7 separate regions of the Homo sapiens genome follow, and all the other regions are linked to region 5. Evidence: promoter capture Hi-C in 16 types of primary human blood cells and fetal thymus (Javierre and others, 2016). All regions are on one chromosome and are shown on one strand. Each heading gives the region's core, a stretch centred on a gene start or on the middle of the fragment in contact. The rest is flanking DNA. Distances are from core to core; before and after follow the strand shown. Region 1 overlaps DOCK2 (dedicator of cytokinesis 2). Region 2 has its middle 2.8 kb from the start of LINC01366. Region 3 holds the start of LCP2 (lymphocyte cytosolic protein 2). Region 4 overlaps DOCK2 (dedicator of cytokinesis 2). Region 5 holds the start of RARS1 (arginyl-tRNA synthetase 1). Region 6 overlaps DOCK2 (dedicator of cytokinesis 2). Region 7 overlaps DOCK2 (dedicator of cytokinesis 2).

What was found. The method cuts DNA at HindIII sites, captures the fragments that hold promoters and counts their contacts. A CHiCAGO score of 5 or more calls a contact.
Region 1: a contact is called between a fragment that was not itself captured here and the fragment with the promoter of RARS1 in region 5, in 1 of 17 cell types (naive CD8 T cells). The highest score is 5.0, in naive CD8 T cells.
Region 2: a contact is called between a fragment that was not itself captured here and the fragment with the promoter of RARS1 in region 5, in 1 of 17 cell types (fetal thymus). The highest score is 5.2, in fetal thymus.
Region 3: a contact is called between the fragment with the promoter of LCP2 here and the fragment with the promoter of RARS1 in region 5, in 4 of 17 cell types (naive CD8 T cells, total CD8 T cells, activated CD4 T cells and 1 more). The highest score is 6.7, in naive CD8 T cells.
Region 4: a contact is called between a fragment that was not itself captured here and the fragment with the promoter of RARS1 in region 5, in 3 of 17 cell types (naive CD8 T cells, total B cells and activated CD4 T cells). The highest score is 7.6, in naive CD8 T cells.
Region 6: a contact is called between a fragment that was not itself captured here and the fragment with the promoter of RARS1 in region 5, in 5 of 17 cell types (total CD4 T cells, monocytes, fetal thymus and 2 more). The highest score is 7.2, in total CD4 T cells.
Region 7: a fragment that was not itself captured here is called in contact with the fragment with the promoter of RARS1 in region 5 in 2 of 17 cell types (naive CD8 T cells and total CD4 T cells); the score reaches 6.5 in naive CD8 T cells.

What each region holds. Positions count from the first base shown.
Region 1 is chr5:169,804,865-169,808,713 of GRCh38, forward strand. The region is part of intron 26 of DOCK2 (dedicator of cytokinesis 2); the gene reads left to right. Among named protein-coding and RNA genes, the nearest start is that of DOCK2, 170 kb to the left of the region's middle. RefSeq lists enhancers at 457-506, 637-686, 3,321-3,849. The HindIII fragment of the contact is 2,225 bases long and covers 1,202-3,426 here.
Region 2 is chr5:170,326,639-170,330,628 of GRCh38, forward strand. No RefSeq gene overlaps it. Among named protein-coding and RNA genes, the nearest start is that of LINC01366, 2.8 kb to the right of the region's middle. RefSeq lists an enhancer at 1,192-1,291. The HindIII fragment of the contact is 1,877 bases long and covers 753-2,629 here.
Region 3 is chr5:170,295,499-170,299,065 of GRCh38, forward strand. LCP2 (lymphocyte cytosolic protein 2) reads right to left here and starts at 2,279. Exons shown (of 21, transcript NM_005565.5): 1 at 2,036-2,279. The coding sequence starts at 2,113. RefSeq lists an enhancer at 1,382-1,461. The HindIII fragment of the contact is 7,744 bases long and covers 1,108-3,567 here.
Region 4 is chr5:169,666,992-169,670,806 of GRCh38, forward strand. DOCK2 (dedicator of cytokinesis 2) reads left to right here. Exons shown (of 52, transcript NM_004946.3): 3 at 2,297-2,337; 4 at 3,551-3,606. Among named protein-coding and RNA genes, the nearest start is that of DOCK2, 32 kb to the left of the region's middle. The HindIII fragment of the contact is 2,626 bases long and covers 328-2,953 here.
Region 5 is chr5:168,484,780-168,488,439 of GRCh38, forward strand. It overlaps RARS1 (arginyl-tRNA synthetase 1), which reads left to right and starts at 1,692. Exons shown (of 15, transcript NM_002887.4): 1 at 1,692-1,764. The coding sequence starts at 1,720. The HindIII fragment of the contact is 3,317 bases long and covers 1-2,967 here.
Region 6 is chr5:169,719,960-169,723,717 of GRCh38, forward strand. All of the region lies in intron 22 of DOCK2 (dedicator of cytokinesis 2), which reads left to right. Among named protein-coding and RNA genes, the nearest start is that of DOCK2, 85 kb to the left of the region's middle. The HindIII fragment of the contact is 2,838 bases long and covers 20-2,857 here.
Region 7 is chr5:169,646,785-169,650,511 of GRCh38, forward strand. The region is part of intron 1 of DOCK2 (dedicator of cytokinesis 2); the gene reads left to right. Among named protein-coding and RNA genes, the nearest start is that of DOCK2, 11 kb to the left of the region's middle. RefSeq lists a silencer at 3,303-3,362. The HindIII fragment of the contact is 2,257 bases long and covers 205-2,461 here.

The DNA of each region.
Region 1 (3,849 bases), core at 1,064-3,563, 1.3 Mb after region 5:
ACAGTATAATAACCAAAAGCTTAGATATTCTAGATTCATTCAGATGATGATGTTAGGGTGATGATGTTTCTATAAGGACATTCAGTAGCCAGCTGTTGAGCTGGTTCCAGTCTTAGCTATTTGATCTTTTTAAAAATTGTTTTTTTAAAGGGAGATTTCAGTCTTACTCATAGTGTAGAAACATGAGGGTTTGTCTATTATTTCTGTGGTAACATCCTATATAATGTTGCCTCAGCCAGGGAGGTTGATCATGCCTGTGATCCCAGCATTTTGGGTAGCCCAGGGAGGAGGATTACTTGAGGCCAGGAGTTTGAGACCAGCCTGGGCAACATTGCAAGACCTCTGTCTCTACAAAAAAAAAAAAAAAAAGGAAAGAAAAGAAAAGAAATTTGCCGGGTGTGGTGGCATGTACCTATAGTCCTAGCTGCTTGAGAGGCTGAGGTGAGGGGATTCCTTGAGCCCAGGAGTTCAAGGTTTCCATGAGCTATGATCTTGCCACTGCACTTCAGCCCAGGTGACAGAACAGACCCTGACTCTCTGTCTTAAAAAAAAATTTGCCTCTTTCTGTTGAAAAGCCAATCCACAGTGTTTTTTACATTTTAGTAATGCTCAGATCCCTTTAAATGGGGAAAAAAATGTGGGTCCTTGGGAATATGCCAGTGGCCCCCAGTTTGGGGGATCCAGTTATAATGTGCTAATTGTCAAGTTCCTGGTTTGGTGGAAAGATGGCCCCAGTTCACAGTTATTTGTGAAGTAGGATGCTGAGGCTCTGCCCATCCCAGGGGAGTGGCCCCCTAGAGCTCTACCCTGACAGGCTGTCACCCTTTTGCACATTCCCTGACATCAGACACTGGTGAGAAGAGGCTGCTTGCTGTCTTACACACCCTCGATACTTAGGGCTTCAAAGCCAAGAAGTGAGTGGGAGGCTCTGAGCTCCCCGTGGGGGATTGTGGCATCTGGACTTGAGGTGTGTGGGAGGTGCGTGTCACTCTTTACCGCCTCTGAGTGCAGTGCTCTTATAATGAATTCTGACTGTGGGGACTAACCCACCCCTTTCTCCGGGTGAGCAACTGTCTTTGCTGGATGAGTTATTAAATACTGTTATCACCATTGAATTTGGTAGAAATTTTGATGCTTTTGGTGAGCTTCACATCTCACCTCTCCTGCTCATGAAGATGGAAATCTCTCTTCTTTTCTCAAAAGCTTCTTCAATGAATAGGAGGCATTCAGTAGCCATGATTACTTTGAGCTAAACTGAAAATGAGAGGCCCAAAAGTACCTAAATTTCTCATGTTCTAATATATAGCGGCTCTCAACATTGCCTCATTGCCTGCATAGTCATATCACCTCGAGAGTTTTTTTTTTTTTTTTTTTGAGCCAGGTTTCTGCTTCTGCCTCCTGAGTAGATACAACTATAGGTACCAGCCACCACACTTGGTTAATTAGTTAATTAATTAATTAATTTGTAGAGATGGGGTTTCACTATATTGCCCAGGCTGGTCTCAAACCCCTGGCCTCAAGTGATCCTCCTGCCTTGGCCTCCCAAAGTGCTGGGATTACAAGCCACCCGGGGAGCTTTTTAAAAGTCAAACTAGCAGGAGTCAGCCAAATGGGTAGGAAGATGGGGTGGGTCCCCGGTGAAACCCCATCTCCAAGCCGAAGAGTTTAAAACCTGAAAGTCAAGCTGTATGTTAAATCCTCAGACTGGATTGAGAACTTGTCCTACCATTTGGCACACTTTCCTCTGATTGATCCCCACCCTTCGCTTATTTTACATAAACTTACCTTTTCCTAATTGGTTTTCTACACTGTCATGCCCACCTTTGAGTGGTGTCTTCCCTTTAACCTTTTTTTGCGTACTAACAAACAAATCGGCAGTCCCCATTCTGAGTCTATAAAAGGCCCCAGACCCAGTCACACAAGGTGTGGGGAGGGACGGGGAGGGGACAACTTTCCAATCTTGGGGTAGGGGAACCAGTGCCCCACCTCCACCCCCCACCATCCCCCCGCCCCCCCACTGAAAGCCGTTTTCACTGCTCAAGAAAATTATTCTCCGCCCTCCTCACCCTTCAATGCCCCACGTATCCTCATTCTTCTTGGGTGCGGCACAAGAGATCCGGAACCGCTGAATATGGGTACAAGCTATAACATAGTTGGTGAGCTGGATGGGCTGAGTGAGACCTGGGCAGGGCGTCACTGGCTGGGGGTCCCCGGCTTGCAAAGCGACTGAGAAGAAAAATCTTGCATCAAAAGCAGTAATACCTAGGCCCCTGTCCCAAGTATTCTGACTGAATTGGTCTGGGGTGGGTGGGGCACTGCAATGAAAAGGTGATGATTACCAGGTGATGCTAACTGTCAGCCAGCATGAAGAGCCACAGGTGTTGAGCAGGTCTCAAACCTGAGCAGGCACCCCCAGTAACCTGGAGGAGCTGTTAAAACACGTTTCTGATCATTAGTCTGGACGGTGGGGTCCTGGCGTCCAGTAACTTATTTTTCTAGCAAGTTCCCAGGTGCTGTTGATGCTACCAATGTAGAGGCCATGCTCAGAAACCATTGCTCTAATATGACCTGTCTTTTTTTTTCCTTTAGTATTCACTGGAAATAGAGGAATAGCTGGGCTCATTCTCAGTTCTTTACCTTCTTAATTTAAGAACCCTGTCCAGTCTATAAAATCTAGCATCTTCCGGCTGGGTGCATGTGGCTCACGCCTGTAATCCCAGCACTTTGGGAGGCCGAGGCGGGCGGATCACGAGGTCAGGAGATCGAGACCATCCTGGCTAATACGGTGAAACCCCGTCTCTACTAAAAAAATACAAAAAATTAGCTGGGCGTGGTGGTGGGCGCCTGTAGTCCCAGCTACTCTGGAGGCTGAGGCAGGAGAATGGCGTGAATCTGGGAGGTGGAGCTTGCAGTGAGCCGAGATCATGGCACTGCAATCCAGCCTGGGAGACAGAGCAAGACTCTGTCTCAAAAAAAAAAAAAAAAAAAAAAAAAATCTAGCATCTTCCAATATGCATTTAATAAACCACAAAATGGCAAATATTTCAAACACATTAATTTGTACTCATGAATTCATCTTCATGGGATAGAAGGGACATGGAATATGCAAAGATCCAACTTTGAAAATCCAGACTGTAGAATGTGCTGTTTGCTTTCTACAGGCACCAACTTCTCAAAATTGAACACTTAGATGAAAACTAATAAAAAAGGCCCCCAGAGCAAATGTTCTGGATTTTTCTCCTGGTTGTTTGGACCTTCTCTGCTGACAAGAGCATAGCCATTTTTACTGGCTTTTAGTTGGCATCATGGAACAACCCATTGATGTTCCATGGAACATCCAAGAATAGAGACTATGTCCACCTACTGGAGGCATTGCCCAGGGTAGAACCACGTGTGGAAATTTAGCAATTACAGTGCAGGATGCCAAGCTTCCATTTGGGGGGCGCTGTGTGTTTGGGGAATGGGACAGGATGCTTGTCTTCAATAGATTGTCATTGTTTGGGTAATTACAGCCCAGAGCAGCAAGCCAACCTTATTCTTTGAAACCCTGGGTGTCATGGTAGGACTCAGGGGGAGATGTCTGCCTTAGCCTGGCTGTTGATTTTTTTTTAATCATAGTGTTGAATTCCCTCACCCAGCTTGCTCCTGGTCTCTTAGCATATGAAAGGGACCAGCTCAGGTGAAGGATAAAAGGCCTGACTTCTTCCTCTATTAACTCCTTTTCTCCCCCCTCACTGAGCAAGTTTAGTTGTCAACTCCAGTTACTTTGAAGGGCGGTTTCACACTGCTTCGTTCTGTGCTTTGCTGGCTGCCGAGTAACTGATAAAATTTAATATTGCTCCAGACCCA
Region 2 (3,990 bases), core at 441-2,940, 1.8 Mb after region 5:
GGCAGAAGAATTGCTTTAACCTGGGAGGCGGAGGTTGCAGTGAGCTGAGATCGCACCACTTAAAGTATGGATTTTAGTTAATAACACACCAATATTAGTTAATTAGTTATTACAAATGTATCATACTAATATAAGATTTTAATAATAAGGGAAACAGGCTAGGAAGTATATGGGAACTCTGTACTTTTGTAATTTTCCTTTTTGTAGTTAAAAGGTTTATTTAAATAAACAAGCTTAGTAAAACATTAATGGTTGAACCAAGGTTGTGTGTATATTGGTGTTAATCGTAAGATTCTTTCAACTTCATTGTAAGTTTGAAATGATTCATAACTTTATTTATTAGCTAGCATTTATTTGTAAGTTGAAACTTCAGGGTAGGAAGATCCTGAAATGCTTCAAGCACCTACAAGCAAACAAAGGTTTGCAAATTAAAATTAACGGTAGAGCACTAACAAAGATGTGCAAATTGCCTCTGAGGTTGTTTTTACTCGGTATGCTTTGTTCACTGCTTTATATTAATCGAAGTAAAACAATTTGTAGGGATATTAATAACTTTACCATCAACTCGGGTTCCTCTAACCCTAATATTCCCTTGAGATTTTAAGTTTCGTAATCATAATTTGTCCTAAGTGCCCACGGTGTGGGAGAAGCTGTGTATTTATGTTTCTGCAGATGATCTATCCTCCTACTTCACAGCAACAAACCTGAGGCTATCAGGCATAACTGCCCCATTTCCTGTCCTCCTACCTAGAAGCTTATTTATAACCTTCCCACCCTTGCCCCCTTCCTTCGAGACTCAGAGAGCAGTTCAGGGTTGGCCACTTATTGTGTCACTTGTTCCTCCCCTTCCTAATTCTTTCAAGGCATTCACTTTTTTTTTAATCAATTATTTTATTTCTTCCTCAAATTGTTAAACTTTACACACCAACTCTTCATCACAGCCCCCAAAGCCTGTGAATCTCATCTTTAAACAGTGAATCATGTCCTCCCAAAGCAAAACAAATCAACCACCCTAACACCTTCTCTCTGCCTCTGTTCTCCTCTGCCTCTTGCCTCCTGTCTTTTCCCAAAGCCAAGGTTCTGCAGAAGACCATCTACACCTGTCGTCTGCATGGGACTTTCATTCCTCAGTACCCAACTCTCCACCGAGAGCCCTCTGACAAGGTCACTGAGATGTCCCCAAAACCCATGCCAGCAGCCTCTTGTGGTCACCTTCTTGCTAGACTTTTAGCAGCAGGTGACACCCATGACTGAGTGTCTGCTTGGTATTCTCCCCTCCCCTGGCTTCCAGGACCCCTTTGGCTAGTCCTCGTCAGCCTCCTTTGCTGGTTCCTCTTCCTCTGCTCACCCTGATAAATATCAGAGCTCTGTCCTTGGTCTTCCTCATATCAAGCCCTAATACACTCTTGCTACACAATCCAACTCCCCCCAAGGCCACCCTCAACTCCAGTGACTCTCAGATATACACTGCCCCACAGAATACCAAAAGCCAACACGCAACTTGTTTTCAACACTCACTATGTGCTAGGCACTGTTCTAAGCATTTGACCTATGTTGTCTCATCTAATCTTTACAACCCTATCAGGGTGTACTATCATTAACATCCCATTTTACTGAGCACAGAGCTCAAACAACTTGCCCATGTCCACACAGCATGAAGCCAGGATTCAAGCCCTGTCCCACACTGTGCTCCTTGCAGAACATCTCCACCTCAAGGTTTTTCATCCACCTCTAACCTACCATGCCCCAAATGGAATTCACAATCCAAATGGAATCCTTTCCCCCAAACTGTTCTCCTTGTATTTCCAGGGGAAGATCCAGGCTTGGTGGAGCCTGAGGATTCTATAATTGGCCAGGAAGGGGCTCTTTAGGAAAAAATAAATAAAAAGAAAACAATGAATACAAGAGTAGGTTTAGGACCTTGATAGTGGATGTGAAAGGGAGGGATTCTCGCACATAACCTTCATTAGCTTCATGGTGAACCCCACCCCATACATTTTGTATTCCAGTGGCTAGCATCTAGTCATTCCAGCAGGGGCATGGAAAATTCTTCTCTTTATATTCCCTCCCTCTTCCCTTCTTCATCCATATGGAACCATGGATAGCACTCTAGTTCTACCTTCCTCAAGTCTCTAGAATCCCTCTTTACCTTTTCACGTACACTATCCTGATTAGCTCAGGTCCTCAACATCCCACACTCGGACCATAGCCATAGTCCACTCTGTCTATTCCTGCCACTTCCTGGACTTTCCCCAACACAGTTCCTGTGCTTAGCAGGGTGACCATCAGAAACATGCATCTCATCAACCCTTCTGTGATGGTCCATTTTCCTCTGACTAGCATCTACATTCCTTAGCCCAGCAGTACCCAGCACAGGTCAATCTTGCCAGCTTTACTTTTCCCTGTGCTCTCCTTTTGTTCCTTTCTTCAACAAATAATTATTGAGGACCTATTCTTGAGTACTATTATGAAGTGCCAATAGTAGGGTAATTGAATGCTAAACACTGAATATGCAGTAGCAATCAAGACCAGATCTTTCACACCTCTTGTCCCATCACACCAAATAGCTTGCAGTTTTTAGACTCTAAGACTGTGTTCAGCTTCTTTCCCTTTTCCTAGGCTGCAGGGAAGCTTTTAAATTCATTGATTACCTGAATAATAACCACTTATCCTTCGTGGATCAGATACAGTGTTATCTCCCATATAGAGCATTTTCTGATCACCCTCCAGCAGCAAAAATGGATCCCTTCCTCATTTCTATCCCAAATGTGCTTTTGAGATCTGATATTCCCTCAGAACACCTAATATACTTTGATGCAACTACTTGACTATTGAGAAGGTCTCCCTCATTTCAAAGCAAACATTTGGATCAAAGAGACATCATTTTATTCATCTCTACATCCTCACTGGAACCTGCCATATAGTAGACACCATACATTCATACATACGTACATTCACCAACTCATTCATCTTCATCCATCCATCCATCTACCCATCCATCCATTCATCTATCTACTCACTAATCCATCTACCTACTCACCCATCCAACCATCCATCTACTCTTTCATCCATCTACCTACCCACTTGTCCATTTAACCATCTACTCATCCATCTACCCACCCACCTGTCCATCCATCTACCATTTTATTCATTTACCTACCCATCCGTCCATCCATCCATCTACTCATCCATCTACCCATCCACCTGTCCATCTACCCACTCACTCATCCGTCTACTCACCCACCTGTTTATCCATCCATCTACCCACCCACCTATCCATCCAACAAATATTTCTGAATGTCCTCAATGTCCCAGCCATTTCTCCAGACTCTTTGGATATAGAGAAGAACAAGAAAGAAGAGGCCTCTGCTCTCACTAGCCCTACATTCTAGTGTCTGTTGCAGGGTCAGTGAGGGGTGGGTAGGGGGTCACAGACTACGGAAATAAACAAAGTAGGTGAGTGAGAAGTACTGTAAAGTAAATTAACAGAGCAATATCCCAGAGGGTACTACTTTAAAAGGAATGGTCAGGTCACCTTACAAGAAGGTGGCCTTTGTGATGAGTCCCAAATGATAAGAAAGGAAGCAGCCAAACAAAGAGAGACAGAAAGTCCTGATGTGGGAATGAGCTTTGTGTGTTTGAGGAACAGAAAAGAACAGAGTAAGCAGAGGAGAGGACAGAGATGAAGGCAGGGAAGTTAGGGAAAGTGTAAGAACTTGGAAAATACAGGAAACTCAGCAACAGCCAGACCTGATTTTGAATCCTTTCTCTAGCATTCATCTCTACACGTATGACCTTAACCAAGTCACCGCACCTTTCTTAGCCCCCATTTCCCCATCATGGAATGGGGACACAAGTACCTATGTCATTGGGCTTAGGGGAGAAAGTTCGGTAAAATGTCTGACACATGATAGATTTTGACAAACATTATTTCCTCTTCTTTTCTTGCTTTAAACATATAATGATGCTGTTACCTTAAAAGTTAGGTTA
Region 3 (3,567 bases), core at 1,029-3,528, 1.8 Mb after region 5:
AACTACAGGAAAGTCGCCAAGCTAGCAGGTGGCAGAGCCAGGGTAAAGTGTGTCCGACCTCAGAGCTGAGTCGAGAGCTGTCTCCAAGGGAGGCCTGACCCCACTACTTGGGTAGAGTTTGCATCTGCAGATCAATTCTTTACATGTCATGTTTGACAGCTAAGATCCATTCCCAAATGACTCTGCGGTCCATTCGTTTGGTAGTTTCTTTCAGGGGGCTGAGGTACTCAGAATCTGAAGGGTTTCTATCCAAGTCTGTGGAGGGACTAGAACTTCCAGGATCACAGATTTGCCTCAGTCTCCTAGTTTCTTCCCTCAGTCCATTTATGGCAGAAGAAGGAACCTGCCTGGGTGCTGTAGATTTGTCCTGGGGTCTGAGATCTCCAGGAAGAAAACTCTCCCTTCCCCCAGCTCAGGCAGTGAGGTCTTCCTGTACCATCCCTGACCCGTGGTCCATCTCCCTGTACTGATGGGAGTTTTAGGGATCAATTCTCTGTTGCTCAATTGGATTGTATAATTCTCCTGGTCACACCTGAATGTTAGGCCTATCTGTGCCTCTCAGCCCGTCCCAAGTCTTTCTCTTCATAATTCTCAATTCCTTTCTTTTTCCCTTATCAAGGTAACATGCCACTTTATTCCCTCTTGGCAAATTTTACCTTGTTGCCCTATCTTATTTGGTCTATATTTGAGCAAGATATTTAGAAACATCCTTCAAAAAACCAGTTGCGCAACAATATTTGCTGAAATCTAAGTTTATTATGACCTTGCAGAAGGAAAATAACAGAAATGAAAGCACAAAATATGGCAAAAAACAGGATCTGTGAACTGTACCCCTACCATACCACACCTAGTTCAACATGTTCTCATTTTCTTCTTCAGGTTGGGGGAGAACAGCTGTGACTATAAATGCCTCGGAAATGCATAGACCCCAGGTTTGGCTATACGTCCTAGGGAACCTCGTCTACCCTCTTGAATCTCAATTTCCCCAGGAAAAACACGAAGCTGAATTAGATGACTTCTACCATCTTAGCTTTACAATCTCATCTTTATGACAGTCTGGAATATCAACAGAATCCGATGCCAGCCTGCAGGGATGAGGGTGTTAGAAGCTTAACCGTCTCGCACAAGTCATCTTACCACATGGTCAGGGTAGAGGGACTATAACTAAGTCATGTGGCTTGAGATCTGCCCAAGCAGATGCGTTGTCCCCTTCTGCCAATGACCAAGCACAGGGATCCTTCAACCTTTCCTCTAAGTCCAGAAGATAAGACAGCAACGCTCTGGTCCCAGCACCGCCACAAGCCTCTTTTCCTCTAGGGGCCTCAGTTTTCATAGCTATAAATTGGGGCTCACATCAGTTTTCTGTCCTGCTTCACAAGACTCTCATAAGGCTCCAAGGAGACTGCCCCAGGCGGGAGCTTGAGGACCCCCCTTAGGGTCGTGAGCAGTGAAAGCCCAAATGCTGTGTCTGGCACTGCTCATCATAGTCCTCTATCCAGCCCTCCCACCCTGCCTATTCTTTCTCCTGCCTCCAGGACACCACGTCTCCCCTTTCTAGTAAGTAGCGTTGATCTCATTAGCAGTTACAACAGTTCTCTGCATCTCAGAGCATGGACTTTAAAACCAGATAGGTGTGGCTTGAGTCTTGCCTCTATCACATGTAGTCCCTAGGGCTTCGGACCATTTCACTTCCCTGAGCTGATTTTGCAGCTGAGTCAAGGGGATAACAATGCTGACCTCACAACATAGTAGGGAGCGCTAAATGGGACAGTGCCTGTGAGACACCGAATTCAAACCCTAGCACATAATAGGCACATACTCATTTGAGGGCTTCTGCTCCCATCCTTCTCTCCGGAACTCATGGTCAGGAAAACTCAGCGGTCTATATGGCGCTCACTCAACCAGTAAAGTTGCCATAGGGTTCCATTGCTATCTTATACACCTCCCACATTCTGCCCCAATTCCATCGTCAAGCCTCAGCTCAGCCCACCAAGGGCACTAGCATCATGACCATTCACACAAGAGCAAGGCTTACCTTCTTGAAATAGTCAGCAAGGCTGTCGGGGTCCCAGCCCAGGACCTCTGAGCGAAAGGGCACATTCCTCAGTGCCATGGCTGCTCTCCCGGGAAGAAGCTCACAAGCTGAGCATGGGCGCTTCACCCATGGGCAGAGAAGCTCAAATCCAGAGCTCGGAGGCGTTCTTGGCTCTTCCAACTCCCAGCTACCCTGTGGAACACCCCTGTTGGAGCCGATGTCTTTTCTGGCGTAGCCAGATCCCAGAAAGCAACGGCTTCCTCTGCGAACAAATATGGTCTCTTCTCAGAAAACGACTCAGCTAGTTTCCTTTACCACTTCCTCTGCTGGGCTCTAAATAAGTAAACAAGGAAGCCCAGCTCTGGAGGCTTGAGATGCAGAGAGAGCCACAGGGTTGGTAATTCCCCACTGGCTCCAGTCACCCCAACCCAGTAGGAGAGGCAATGAAGGGGTCTTAAACTCCAATGTGAGTCTGAGTAATTTTCCTTTAAACTCTGGGCACCCATATGTCTACACTGCATTCTTGCTCAGCTGGGGCTTTGCAGACCAAAATCTATCCTGACGGTTGACCTGAAATACAGACAATTTCCCACATCAGTGAACTGCTGGAGCATGTTTTTTTAATGCTTTCCAACCACTTTCCCCTCCCACCATCAAAGACTGGGATTCTTTCAGCTGCCTCTTTACAGTTGTCATGAGAGGGTCCTCAAGGAGTGAGTGAGTCAGGCACCCAGGGCTGAACAAGGTGCTACACTGTGCAGACAGGGCTCAGTTTCTGATATGACTATTTCTGTGCTATGCAACCTTAGGCAAGGAGTTAAAAGCTGGGAATCTCAGTTTCCAAATCTGTATAATAGGAAAACAGTGATTCTTCATATGCACATAAAACTTAGATGCATTCAACTAGACAAACCTAAAAAGAAAAATTAAAAAGAAAAAAAACTTAACAATTGCTATTGGTAGTGTCATATATTCCATTCACTATTGTTTCCACAATATATTTTATTCACTATTGATTCTGCCATATATTCTAGCCAAAGAGCACATTCCCTGGAGATAGGAGGTGAGAATTTGCTGTTTTCTTAGTTTCAGACATTGTTCATTTCTCATAACTGAACAACTTATTGGCAGAGGGTGAGTCCAGTGTATAAAAGCAACTATATTTGTGCAATAAGGCAACCTCTAAACACAAGTTACTACTTCATCTAATGCCACACACACACACACACACACACACACACACACACGAGTCATCTGTTCCAAGGCTGTTGCCTTTACTAAGTGATGCTATGTTGGTCCTTGAGGTGGTGCCTTCCTGAGGGTTTTCAAGCATAGCTTTGGCCATGCACAGTTTTCTTCTTATACACACTCTGAGGAGCCCCGCCGTCACGGTAATGCACCTGCCTCACAAGCTGGTGGGCAGCTTAAATGAAATACACATTTTGCTCCAGGCCCAGCACTAGCTCATCAATGTGAGCTGGTGTTAGCCTCACCTTAGAAGGTGCTGAGGGCATCAGTGAAGGTAGCCCAGG
Region 4 (3,815 bases), core at 391-2,890, 1.2 Mb after region 5:
ACTCTGAGAATTAGGAAACCTATAAGACGTACACACATAACCGAGTTTTGAGGGTCAGAGCAGGCAAACTCCTTGGATCCAGGAAGACAAGTTACCTTAATGGAGTCCCTGTCACAGAGATGCAGATGTGGACATGAGCTTTGTGTAGGGACCATCTATTGGTCCCTCGATTGTTTTTCTGTTTTTTGGTGGATTTTAGTGACCTTAGCCATCATGTGGGTTCAAGTCACTGCTACCAGATGACCCTATCTCTATTTGCACTCTAACCCCATCACATGGGAGACAATGTGGCCAACCAGCTTTAAGGATTGGCTTTGAAGTCACATAAGCTTGAGTTTGAACTCTGGTTGTATGATCTTGGCCCAGCCCATCAATTGACTTGAATATCAGTTTCCTCATCTATAAAATGGGAATGATAATACTTAGCTCACAGTGTCGCTCTGAGGATTAAATGAGAGAATGCCTGTACAACGTTTAGCATACAGCTTTGCATGTTGCAGGTGACCAGTGAAAGACAGGTAATAATAATATTACAAAGTTGCATTTCTGTCTAGTTGGTGAAAAGGGGCAACTAAAGGAGGTTGTTGTAGCACAGCGCAGCAGGGTGTTGCTTGAGTGTAAATCTCAGCTGCATCACCCACTAGCTGTGTGACCATCAGCAAGCTGCTTAATCTCTGTGCCTGTCTATTTTCATTTGCAGAGCTGAAGCAGTAATAGTACCTACTTAATAGGATTGTTGTAAAGATTAATTTACAATAAGACAAAACAAAAAATGTCAACAGAGTTACCAGCACATAGGAAGCACTTAGAAAGTATAAGCAGTATTGTTAATTATGGATTATTTTTCAACAGTTATTGACAAATAATTAGAGGCCACTGAAAATAGAATGTGATGCTTCATGAAGTAGAACATCTTCCATCACTGGAAGTATTCAGGTGGAAAGTAGCTTAGTGGAGATTTAGTTTTGGAGATTTAGACATTGAGAAGTTGGAAATATTAATATTAGGTAACCATCAAATCATTCCCTCATAATATAGGAAGCATAGGTGATAGTTGCTTATGTTGAAAACCTGACACTGCAACCTACTAGCTGTGTGATCCTTGGAAAGTCACTTAACTTCTCTGTGCCTCAGGTAGGCCACTCATTTGTAAAACAGGATAATAACCGTTCCTACTTCATGCGGTTGTTATGAATATTGAAGGGCTTAATATATAAAGAGTGCTTAGAATGGTATTTTTATTTCCCACCTGAGATTCTCTTTCCAACCTCCCTTTCTTCCTTCTGTTTTTCCTCTCTCCTTCCTTTCTCCTTTTCTCCTTCCTCTCACTTTCTGTCACTCAAAAAGAAGCTATCACGGCCCCCTGTTGCTTCAGAGTTTCCTTTAGGACCTGGCCGTCAGGCTGGCTCATGACTATGAAGGGTGACTTTGCATGTTAAGTTGTTTGTTTTTGGGCTTGGTTGTATGTCTGTTGGGAACATATTTCATCAACAATCTGTCAGCCCGGTAATGAGGGGTCTGCTAGTGAGGCTCCTGACAGACGCGTTTTATTTACAAAGATGACAAATGCCACTCCTTGGCTGTGTTGGAATCATTTCAAAGGCCAGCCGACTCATTACAGTCATCAGGACTTGCTGCACTCAGGCGTATTTTGTCTGAGGACTGTGTGTAATTTGGATTTCTGCTCATTGATACATTTTTTAATATAATATTCCTGCAAAGGGTAGATCTCTTAAAATCCCTGTCCCTTTATCTGTCCCTAAACTTACTTGTTTTGTAACGACTAACTTTTGTAAATCGCATTTTAGACACTATTTGCTGCTGTTAGAACTGTCAGTGTTATTTTAGGATGTTTGCCCAAATCAGGAGCATTTCTTTGTCCCGAAGGCAGGAATTGAAAGCATGCAGATGGTCACAGGGCCCAGGAAGGCAATGGACACAAGGGAGGGGCTGCGTTGAGGCTGGTGGACTGGAGGCAGATGCTCTGTCTGGTGGACCCTGCTGCTTTTCTCCTCCCAGCCAGTTGGGAGCACTGGCCAGCACTACTGGGGCTCCTGATTTTTCAAAATCAGGAGCACCTTTATATGAAGTCTATTTTTAGATGTTATTTTGAGATGTTGGCAACCAATTCAACAGATTTCAAAGACTATGAGCTTCCAGAGTTTGATCTGTACCCAAGGTCTAAAGCAATTTGCAGTAGTTTTACTAGTTTAAAACAAAACAAAACAAAACAGAAAAACACTAGCAACAAACTTGTAATAAATGAGGGAACTGTTTCTTTGTTTTCTTTTTGCAGACTGGTATAGGGGATACCTCATAAAGCACAAAATGTTACAGGTAAGGTCACCTGGTTTTTATTTGTGTCAGTACTGGAGGTCTTCATATGGCCCCGCTATCCCATCTGAGCAGGTCTCTCCCACCATTGCTCCTCAGCAAAGGGAATCCATCTCTCCCTCCTGTGCCCTGTGCTCTCTGACCTCTGTGCCTTGTCACTCGCTGTGCTCAGCTCCCTCCCACTTTCCCTCATTCTTTAAGGTTCATCTCTGGTGCCATCTCCCTGCAACTTTTCCTGATATGCCACTCACTTATGATTTCTCCCTTCCTCGAGTCTCTGTGGAATTGTGCGTTATAAATTTGAAATTTATTCTACTGCCTTCCTTTAGAGTTGTTTGCAGCATTCAGTCATCTCCTCATCCGTATACCCAGGTCAACACAGAAAGGACAGGCCTGATTTCTACTTTTGAGGGGTTCTCTTGTTCTAACCTCACATTTCACTATTGTCTCCATGAGAGCAGGCGCTTGCTTTGCTTGTCTCATTTTCTCTCACAGCACCTAGCACAGTGACCAGATGTCCCCAGTATGCACATTGGTTGCATTTATGAAGGGATTTCCAAGTAATTGATAAACTTACCTTGTTAACTGAGCCAAATGTATGGAGTAAGGAAATAATAGAAGCTTCTTCCTTCTTCCCTGACATGCTGTGTCGGGAGGGATGGTCCTATTCTGCTCTCTCAAAGAACAATGGAATAAATGCAGGCAGAATAGGTCTCAAATCGAACTAGCCCAAATGCACCTAGGAACATTGTTGCTTCAGGACCAGTTATTTCTGACCTTCCAGTTGTTCCTGACTGTGAAGGGTGACCGCTTTCCGGAATCGGGCAGGCAATGGGAGAAGCAGAGCTCCTCGTCTCGCTTAAAGTCAGTGAGTGGTTTAGGTTGTCTTTCAAACGATACTGTCTTATAGCCCACCTGCAGGATGAGTGGCCATAATGGGTTGGAGCATCCCTTGGGATCTAGGGCTATGGTGAGATCTAGGGCTATTGTGGGATCTAGAGCAACTGATGGAGAACTGGAGGGAAAGCCAGATCTAAACAAGTAGATTTAGAATCCAGCCCCTGTTCTATCTGGCTCTGGGTTTATTCCTTTAAAGTCTGGGGATTTTATAAGCCAGTAGCTTTTGGAAAAAAATTATAAAGACGTAGGGTCATTCATTTCTGTGGTGATATATCTTTTTATTTTATTTTGTTTTGTTTTGTTTTGTTTCCAACAGGGCATTTTTCCTAAGTCATTTATCCACATCAAGGAAGTGACAGTTGAGAAAAGAAGGTATTTGCCATTCTTCACCAGACTTGAGCCTCCAGTGGCTCATGGATGTCTCTGTCCTGTTTATTTTGAAAATCTGACTTGGAAGAGCTGAGGGTTGCTCAGCTTATCTTCTTTGTGCCTGTGTATATTTGTGGGTCTCCTTTCCGTTACTCAATGGGAGATCTAATCCAAATTGATTCATACTGAGATCTGACTCTGAGGGGGTATTA
Region 5 (3,660 bases), core at 442-2,941:
TATAGCTGGGACTACAGGTGCACACCACCATGCCTGGCTAATGTTTTGTATTTTTGGTAGAGACGATGTTTCACCATTTTTTCCAGGCTGGTCTTGGACTCCTGGGCTCAAGAAATCTGCCTGCCTCAGCCTCCCAAAGTGCTAGGATTACAGACATGAGCCACTGTGCCTAGCTCGATGTCAACTTTTAAAAGTATACACTGGGATATGAATTTTTAAAATACTTTTATGAGGCACGGAAGCGAAAACGTTTAGAGTGCTACTTTCTAAGTTCTGGAGTCATAGAGAAGAGTGAACAAGATAATTAAGGTCCCTGCCCTCTTAGAACATATATCCCAGGTTTGCTGTTTATAATTTTAACTCAATATATATACAATGAAATATTATTCAGCCTTATAAAAGAAAACCCTGTTATGGGTGACAACATAGATGAACCTGGAGAACATTATGTTGGTGCAATAAGCCGGGCACAGAAAGACAAATACTACATTAGCCCATGTATATGTGTAATCTAAAAAATTCAGATTCATAGAAGCAGAGCATAGAATGGTGGTTGTCAGGGCTTCAGAGGTAGGAAAGATGGGAGATGTTGCTCAAAGTTACAAAGTTTCAGTTAGGCGGGATGAATAGATTCTAGAGATGTAATGTATATTGTATACTTGCAGTTTTCGTTTTCGTTTCGTTTTGTTTGTTTTTAAATAGAGAGAGAAAAGGTCTCACTCTGTCATCCAGGCAGAGTACAGTGGCATGATCATGGCTCACCGCAGCCTCAAATTCTTGGGCTCAAGTGATCCTCCCACCTCAGCCTCCTATATACCAGGGACTACAGGCACATGCCACCATGCCCGGCTATTTTTCCATTTTTTTGTAGAGACGAGGTCTTAGCTGTTTCCCAGGATGAGAATAGATCTTAAATGTTCACAGCACACACGCGCGCGCGCGCGCGCGCACACACACACACACACACACATGCAAATGATAACTGTATGAGATGAAGGTTATGTTAATTATTTTGGTTGTGGTAATCATTTCAGAATGTATACATATATCAAAACATTACGTTGTACATCGTTATGATATACAATCTTTGTCAATTATACCTCAATAAAACTGGAAAAATAAATAAGATTTTAACTCAAATGTCACTTGCTTAGAGATGTCTTCTCTCACCCAAGTCACTCTATCACATTGCCTTCCTAGCAATTAAAACTACCTGAGATTATTGCCTTTTTTGGTCTATTTTCTCTCTCCATTCTAAAATGTGTCTGCCGTGAGAGGGGAGATCGTGTCTGTTTTGTTTTCTTTGTGCCCCCAGAGCCTAGAATACTGTCTGGCATTTTAAAGTACACAATAAATGTTTGTTGAATAAATGAATGGATTTGTTAGTTTTGTGCCCATTTCACAAAGGGGCAAAGTGAGGCCTTTGAGAGCCAGAAGCTCTAGGTCAGTGACTGTCCTAGTCTATCCAAGCACAGAGCAGCTCTGGTTAGTGTCTGCTCAATTCCTCTCCCCTCGCCCAAACGTCCCTGAGTTGCGGCCTCGCTCCTGACCGAAATCCCCGCGGGTTCTCCTCGCAGTGTCTACTGGATCCCGCCAGGAGGCAGCAGAGGCGCCAGCACCCAGTCCGACGGGACAGCGGACCGGAGGGGGTTTCCGCTTCCGGGAGAGGCTGACCGTTTCCGCTTCCGTCCACTTGGCGAGTGAGACGCTGATGGGAGGATGGACGTACTGGTGTCTGAGTGCTCCGCGCGGCTGCTGCAGCAGGTTTGGACGCAGGAGACCGGCGGGAAGGCCTGAAAGAGATGGAGCAGGCTCTGACTCCTGCCCAAGCGGCTTCGGGGGCGGGACAGCTAGGCGAGGACCATCCTGGTCCTCTCAGAGTGGAGCGGCACGGTCCCTGTGGGAACAGGAAGGGTTGAGAGAGGAAGCACCCATCATTTCAAAGCCCGTGTGACTGTGATTTTCAGCGGAATGGAGGGTCCCCACCCTCTCCCAGGCCTCCCCCAAACCAGCGTCTTCGGTGGGCTGGAGCCTGGCATGTTCAGAACAGTTCTCTCCCTACAATCCACCTCCTCTTCTGCATACACACGCGATTTAGGGGATGCGGGGAGATAGACAAGGGGGGAATACATTCAGAGCTCTGGGTCTTGGTTTGCAGCTCAGCCGCAGTTCTTCCCGGGTTACTGAGCGAGAGGATTCCTAATAAGCCCATGGGGTGATTCATTATCAGACCAGCGGAGCTTGCTCTGTGCCCTCAGCATTCGTCGGGAAGGAGCAGCCACACCATATAAAAGTGAAAGCGGCCGGGCGCGGTGGCTCATGCCTGTAATCCCAGCACTTTGGGAGGCCGAGGTGGGCGGATCACGATGTCAGGAGATCGAGACCATCCTGGCTAACACAGTGAAACTCCGTCTCTACTGAAAATACAAAAAAACTTAACCGGCTGTGTTGGGGGGGGTCCCTGTATTCCTAGCTACTCGGGAGGCTGAGGCAGGAGAATGGCGTGAACCCGGGAGGCGGAGCTTGCAGTGAGCAGAGAGCACACCACTGCACCACAGCCTGGGCGACAGAGTGAGACTCCGTCCCCCTACAAAAAAAAAAAGTGAAAGCGGAACAGTTCCATTACCTTTTATGCCCAGGTGGGGAGGGATGGTAGGAAGATAGTTCACAGTACTCTGTCCTGTTACGGCTGTATACTTAATCAGCAGTCACAAAGTACAAGTTAGTCAAGTAAATTGGCAAGCTCTTTACATTTCTGAGCCATTTATTTATCGGTATGTATTTATCTTTGCCTCACTTGGTTGTGATAATCATGAAGGTAATTTCTGAAAAGTGTTTTTAGCTCAGCTCCTGGAACATAATGTATGCTCATTTTTGGCAATTTGGTTTTGGCTGTAGCTATCTCCCAGTAAGTATTCTGAAATTTCAGGTGAGGAACTCCCCCTGAGTTTTGCAGTTTAAGTTGGAAGCTTTATTTCTTTCTGAATTGACATGTCTTTAGTTTTAGATGTTAAACTACAAAGCCTGGTCTGGTCTAGTCTAGGACCTAAGACACTGGAAACAGGAAGAAATGGGAAAATTGTTTAGTCCCAGAAAGGGTGAAAGGCAGACCCTTGAGCTATTTTGAATGTGACAAAGGACATTTGGGTTTTTTAAGAGTCCCAGGTCATAGGATTTGGGAATAAAAGCAGGTTGGTCAACCTGAAACTTAACTACTCTTGCTAAATCAGAGTGTTTATCGAGCCAAAGAAAAGAACTAGGGATATGAGACATGAGGCATATCCCATTATATACTTACTCCGATTCCTGTCTCCCAAAACACATGTATGTGTGGTTAATATATTCTTTTTCTTTTTCTTTTTTTTTGAAACAGAGTCTCGCTCTGTCAAGCAGACTGGAGTGCAGTGGCACGATCTCGACTCACCGCAACCTCAGCCTCTGGGATTCAGGCAATTCTCCTGCCTCAGCCTCCCAAGTAGCTAGGATTACAGGCATGCGCCACCATGCCTAGCTAATTTTTGTATTTTTAGTAGAGACAGCGTTTCGCTATGTTTGCCATGCTGGTCTTGAACTCTTGGCCTCAAGTCATCCACCTGCCTAGGCCTCCCAAAGTGCTGGGATTACAGGCGTGAGCCACCATGCCTGGCCAATATTTTCTTA
Region 6 (3,758 bases), core at 189-2,688, 1.2 Mb after region 5:
ACAATGGATGGGCTGCTAAAGCTTTATATTTGACAGTGCATCTGAAACAGGCAATCATTTGGGATTCTCTTAACACATTCTTTGAGATTTCAGGTTATGAATAGAAAGATGTGAGTGTCTTGAACCATGCGACAGAACAAATGCACTTAGGTCATTCTGAAAGTGAAGTGTCTGTTTCAGATTCCTCTGGCTTGTCATTTAGTCAAGTCTGAGTCGGGTATTCTAGGTTTGAGAGATACTTCTCAGTGATTTGGGAAAACCAATGAGACTCCAGTGAATCTAAGAGTGATTTTCTTGGAGGAGTTCAAGAATTCAGACATTGCAGTTACAGCTTAAAAGTCAAGGATATCTTATCCCATCTTCCAAGTGAGAATGTTTTATGTATAAGTAGAATATGTCTTTTCTACTTCTCAGACCTTTTCAGTTCTTCCTTTTGGTGTATTTATTTTATTGCTTCTCCTCTCTCCTATATTTCTTTCCTTTTCCATCCCTTCCTCCCTCCCTTTCTTCCTTCCTTCCTTCCATTTTTTCCTTCCATTTTCAAGGATTGAGCTTCTTTACAAAGCCTCTTGCAGTGCCTGAAGCTCAGACAACCAGCTGCGCTAATCCTCAAGGGTTCTGAGCTTGTGGAATTATACAGAGTTTGGAGCAGGCTGAGCTTCCCTGTTCCATGAGATGGACACTGAGCGGCTCCCCTTCCTACTGGAAGGCACATGGAGATGAGACTGCAGAGCTTCTGTTAAGATAACTCTCTTATTTATTTATTAATTTTGAGACAGAGTCTTGCTCTGTCACTAGAGCAATGGCGCAATCACGGCTAGAGGGCAATGGCACAATCATGGCTCACTGCGATCTCCGCCTCCCACCTTCAACTGATTCTCCTGCCTCAGCCTCCCAAGTAGTTGGGATTACAGGCACGCATCACCACACCCAGCTAATTTTTTAGTAGAGACGGGGTTTCACCATGTTGGCCAGGATGGTCTTGATCTCCTGATCTCGTGATCTGCCCACCTCGGCCTCCCAAAGTGCTGGGATTACAGGCGTGAGCCACTGCGCCCAGCCAGTATAACTCTCTCATGTCTTACGTCTGTTAGTTTTTGTGTTTTCCATCTACTGGGACAAAATACATTTGTGCATTTGTTTTGCTCTTCTCTGCCTCAAGGCATATAATCTTGCAGAACCCCTAACTCTTTAACTGGTGTAAATTCAGTGCTGCTGTGACGTAAATGCTAAGTGACTTTTGGCTTATTCAGGAGCAGGGTGATCTGTTATTCCTTGCTGTATCCCTAGAATAGCAGCACATCACTGACATTTGGTCAGGAGAGGTCTCTAAAGCAACCCAAGCCTAATCTTGAATCCTTCCTCATGAACAGAAATGTAGGCTGACCTGCAAAGACGGTCTAGGACCTCATGCTAGGAGAAGGTAGGTTTTGTGTCTTGTTCTTTTTAGAATCTTTAGCAATGATCTGCTCTCCAGTGGAGTCTCTAGGGCATTGGGAAGCTATTGGGGTATTTCTCCATACGAGGGGGCATCTTCTGTGGGAAACTAGAAAACAGAAGTTTCAATGCTTTGAGATGTCTAACCCAGCTGTTGGGAAATCAGAATTGAATTATTGGTTTGGGGCTAATTGTATCTGGTATTGTGTGTCTGTTTCCTGTGAATCCTTTATTCTCTTTCCCTGCTTGCATAACTGCAGCGGATCTAGCTCCCATTATTTGTTCCCTTGCCATTATTTTTTGCACATCCTGCCCAGGAACACTTGCAAGGGCTAAGGATTTTCCTGTGTCAGTATGCAACGTATAGTTGGGTAAGGAAAGAAGAGTCGTTGTGGAGAAGGGGTGGAATTTTTATTTTACTATATTGTTCAGAAGGATTCATTTTTATCTATAGCCAAAGAAAGAAGAGAGTGAGTTCCTTGTCCCTCGCTTCTTGTGTCACTAGCTCCTGAGTCAAAGTCTGGATCAAGTGTCTCTGATTAGGCACATGCCAGTGCTGTAGCTGCAAAGGAAGCTGGCAGAGCAGGTTCTAGCTTCTGCCACAGGGAGGCAGTCTTATGAGTAATTCCTAAATTATAGGAAGTGTGTCTGAAAGATGCTGGTGGCCATAAATATGTCCAATATCCACTAGGCTTTTGTAGAATGACTGAGCTCCTGGGAGGTATTGAGCATTGTAAGGAACATTCAGAAAGAGTTGAAGTGATAATCTTCTACGATTCAGCTTCTTTACAAAGCCCCTTGCAGTGCCTTTAATCCTGAAGCTCAGACAACCAGCTGTGCAGATGCCCAAGGTTTCTGAGCTTGTGGAATTACACAAAGTTTGGAGCAGACCATGCTTCCCTGTTCCATGTGATGGACACTAAGCAGCTCCCTGTCCTACTGGCAGGCACAGAGAATCAGACTGCAGAGTTAGGATAACTCTCTAAAAGGGAGAGGAACCAGAACACTGTGCTGCAACAGGAGTTGCTCCCACTTGTCTCTGCTCCTCACAGATCCTCATGCTGCCCCAGGCTAGAGTGCAAGGGGCAGCATGGAGTAAGAGTTATGAGGAGATGTTCATGCAGGACAGACAATGGGTATAGTGGTATCTCTGCCTCTATAAGTACCTGGGTTAGTGATTGAATCAGCCTCTCTGAGCCTCAGCATCCTCATCTATAAATGGGGATAAACCAGTTCATTGTGTTTCAATGATGAAATGAGATTATGGGTACAAAGTGCTCCATGCAATATCTGGTACTTATTTCATAAATTTAATAAATGTTAGCTGGTATCATGTTTTCACTTAGGAGAAACAGCAAGGGTGCTTTTTTCAAAAACTCAGATTTAAATTATTAAGAAGAAATTCCAGGGTCTTGATTCAAGCTTAAAATTTGACTTACTACTCATACTATCCTAAACATTTCTTACAGTTTATTTCTCTGGAGGCAGGGATAACTTTTACCAGGTGTCTGTGCTTTTTGAGGACCACAATGTGGTACTCTCCTGGCCCCAGGAATTCACGCTGGTCTACTGCTAGCCCTCACTGGGTGGTCCTGATTCTGTGTGTTGCTCTTATTTCCTCTGTGAGTGTGATCAGGCCCCTCTGGCCAGAGCAGCTGTGGTGCCCGGGTCTCTGGCCCCTGCTTGCTATGCCTGCTTTTCTTTGCATCCTGCCTTCTGCTCTTATTACAGACCTGCTTATTTGGGTCTTGCTTCCTTCCCCATCTCCATTTAACCCTGATCTCCTGCTTCCACAAACTCCTCCTTCACCAGCCCCAGCTCCAGCTCATTTGCTTATGAGAAACTGCCAGCTCAGAGGTGAAAGGCACAGTCTCCAAAGCCAAGTCTGCTTGGGTGTGAATTCTGAGTTGGAATCTTGCCATTACATTTACTAGCATTTACAACCTTGGACAAATTATTTAATCTGCCTAAAGCTCAATTTCCTCATATGTAACACGGTCATAATAGTACCTACCATACAGGGTTGGTGTACAGACTAAGTGAGCCCAATGGATGTAAGGTACTTACTTAGCACAGTGCTGGTCACATAGCCAGTATACATGGTTATTCACTTATCATCTTCAGCAGTCTTCACAAAAATTCTACGGAGGACCCCATTTTCTGACTTTATCTCCTGCTACTCCTCACTCACTTTGTGCCAACCACACTGGACTTGCTGTGGCTCAAGCTCCTTCCTTCCTTGAAGACCTTTGCACCCTTCCCCAGATCCATTTGTTAACTCCCTCACCATTTTTATATCTTTGCTCAAACCTCTCTTTCAC
Region 7 (3,727 bases), core at 83-2,582, 1.2 Mb after region 5:
ACTCTGTAACTATTTAGTAAACAAATACAATAGGTATAGCCAAAGCATTCTGCCTAAGGTTTGAATTCTTGAAGCCAGGAGCTTGTCAAGAGTCGGAAAACAATTCTTACAGTCTGTTCAGATCAATTAAGTTCAGTAAGCCTGTCCTGAGTGATGGTCCTTAGCTGGGTGTTTGGGCCCAGAGATGAATAAAACAGTTCGGGAAGCTTACAGTCCAGTCATAACCTCTCTTTCTGTATGAGGCAGCAGAGAGCACCATTATTAGTACTAATGTCCCCATTGGACAGGTTGGGGGCAGTGCCCCCTTTGCTTCATGTTACTAGAGCTGCCATCATCCCCTTCATACTTCCTTGCAGCCTCATGTTGAATGATCTGGGCACCTCTGTAGAATGCAAGCTCTATGATGGCAGGGCCATGTCTGTTGTTCTTCTTCAGCACAGAGCAGGTGCTCAGCGGCTGCTGATTGGATGGATGAAGAGGTGGATTCATAGGTGGATGGATAGTTGTTGATTAGATGGATGGGTGGGTAGATGGATGATAGATGGGTGAGTGGATGCATGGATGGGTGGGTGGGTAGATGAGTGGAGGGGGAGGAGGATGGGTAAAGGGTAAGAGTTGGAGGTTTTAAAATTTTCTGGTGGCCTTATAGGATTCAGATGGACTGAGTTGCCCCATCTTGCCTTTATCTTCCCACCTCATCCATTTCCCTGTCAGGAGGCGAGGTCCTGTGAGAGCACAGCACAGCAATAAATAGAGTACTCTTGAACTCGTCTCCAAACAGTGGACTCCTGCAGATGGTCACTCTACCAAGCTCACCAGTTCTCCCTGGGACTCCATTAAGATGGCCCTGCCATTCATCCCTCACACATCAAGCTGGTTTCCCCCCTCTCTTCCCTGCTGTCACACCCTCTCCCCACCTCCTTGGGGGCTCTCAGTCCAGTTCTTCCCCTTGCCAGTCTCTGCCCCTCCCTCTCCCTCCAGTCTCACTTCCTTAGTGGGGCCTCTTTTTCCCTCTGAGAGTCCACAGCTGCTGTGACTTGCAGTTTAGCCTTTCACTTCTGAAGACAGCTCTTTGTTTCTTGTGTGTTTATTTTGTCTCTTCGACTAGATTTCACAGAAGCTCAGGAGAGCAGGAGCCACCCCCTTTCACCCCACTTTTCTAGCTGCAGGATCCTGCAGAGTGCCAGACGCTCTCTGCATTTGGGGCTGGAGGGCTGATTTGATTGATTTCACCATAAACTCTCTTCCAACTCTGTAGTGTGTGTGTGCATGTGTGAGTGCAAGAGTGTGTGAGAATGTGTGTGTGAATGTGCCTATAGGAGTACTAGAATGGAGAGAGTGAAATCCAGCATGATGTTTCAGAGCAGGGTTTATCAACCTTGTCACTATTGACATTGTGGGCCAGGAAAATCTTTGTTATGGGGCTGTCCTGTGCACTGTAGGATGTTTAGCAGCATCTCTGGCCTCTAGTCACTAGAGGCTAGTAGCACTGACACCCCCGACTCCCCTCCCCCAGGTTGGGACAAGAAAAATGTCTCCAGACATCAACAAATGTCTCTTCTAGTGGGGCAAATTCGCTCCCAGTTGAGATCACTGTTTGAGAGAATTCACTGGAATCCTAACTTTCGTCTTGTCGGCTGGGCATGTCACTGGCTCGCTAAAAACTGTGCGCTACAATATGCAGCCCATAAGGTTGTTATCATGATCCAGCAAGAGGCCTAAAGCACCTGGCACAGTGCTGGGACCAAATGCATCTCCACTCGTGAGAGGCGATGTGAGTGTGGTGCATGGCTGAGAGAGTGTGCTCCGGAGCCAGCCTGTCTGGGGTGAAATCCTCACTTGGCCCCTTCTTTGCTGTGTTCACCCCAGGATGTTTACTTGATCTTGCACTACCTCAGTTTCCTCATCTGTAAAACAGAGACGATAATAATCACACCCACCCCAAGAACTGCAGATTCACGATGAAATGGGTGGCTGTGCGTAAAGCCCTTGGAATAGTGTCTGGTATGCAGGAAGTGTTTGGCAGAGGTTAGCTGTTCTTCTGCTCTCTGCTCTCTCCTGGTGGGTGGAGGAACACCTCCTCCTTCTAGGTTCCCTCTGGCTGTAATTCTTCTGCCTCATTTGCTGCTGACTAGCGCCCGCCCGGGTTTGAGCTCTGGGGTGGCTGCCAGAGGCTTCTGCTGGGTCATCGCAGTCACCCTCGTGGATGCAATGTCAGGATGCTGCCTCAGTGCGGAGGCTGTCAACACCTGTCCAGAGACTTCAGGCACACTGCTTACGCATTTCGATGAGCGCATTTCACTTGAATCCACCAAAGTGGACCTGCTGCTAGTTCTATTTCCCCCTGGAGTGGAGACTCTCCAAAGTGAGCTTCGGGCAATTACATTCTTTCTCCATTATTGCTTTTGTTCCTCTTACACAGCCACTTGTCCAAACTCTATTAACACTTGGTGTTGGCTGAAGCTTGTGTTTTCAAACATGTCAGCAGATGGCAGGGCCCCAGATGAGGTACGAATCCATCTTGAAGGGTCACAGGGCACTCGATGGCTGCAATCAAAATTGGCAGCCAAGACGTGTCTTTTGAAGCAATCTTGATAAATGCAAGAAAGAATATAGCCAGAAGAAGGGACATAGCTGCCCTTCATGTTCATTCACATCCCTTCCGTCCAATGAGCATTTCTTAAAAGTTCAATAAACATTGATTGCACTTCTACTGTGGGCCAGGCGCTAGGAATTCAGTGGTCAACAAGATAGGCTCAGTCTCCATCCTTACTGAGGCTGGATGTAACGAGGATATAAACAAGCCCAGTGTATGTGTAATAGAGTGTGATGCCTGGTGAGGAAGCAGGGACTCTGGACTCCACTCTAGGTTTGAATCCGCTTTCTGCCACTTTCTGTGTGGCTATGAGCAAGTTCCTTAACATCTCTTTGAGTTTCTTGTATGTTACAGGAAGAGTAATAACTTGAGGTTACTATGAAGATTAAATGGGCTGATACAAGTAAAGTGCTAGGGATTTTTTTTTCTTTCTTTTTTTTTTTGCCGGCGTCTTGCTCTGTCACCCGGGCTGGAGTGCAGTGGTGTAATCTCGGCTGACTGCAACCTCTGCCTCCCAGGTTCAAGCAATTCTCCTGCCTCAGTCCCCCGAGTAGCTGGGACTACAGGTGTACCCCACCACACTTGGTTAATTTTTGTATTTTTAGTACAGTCGGGGTTTCACCATGTTGGCCAGGCTGGTCTCAAACTCCTGACCTCAAGTGATCCACCTGCCTCCCCTAGTGTTGGGATTACAGGCGTGAGCCGCCGCACCTGGCAGTGCTGGGGATTTTGTCTGTCTTATCTATCACTGTGACTATAGTACTCAGAGCAATATCTAGCACCCAGTAGGTACTACATACTGTGTCTACAGTAGTTAGGACAGTATCTAGCACACACTAGATGTTCACATGGATATCTGTTGAAAACACCATGGAGTATATACTTGGCATTTAAAATGTGCTCTAAATATTTACCATTTTCTTAGGAAACAGGGTGTGCAGTAGTTAGAATTTAGACTCCGAGATCTATCTATATATCTTATTAGGTGGAGAAGTTGTTTACCCACCCCTTCCTCAGTTTCCTTATATATAAATCAAAGAGAAACATTGAACTTATCTCCTAAAATTGCACAAAGCACAGAGACCCTTCTTTAGTTGTTTTTGTGAGCCACTGTGCTAGAACAATGGTGTT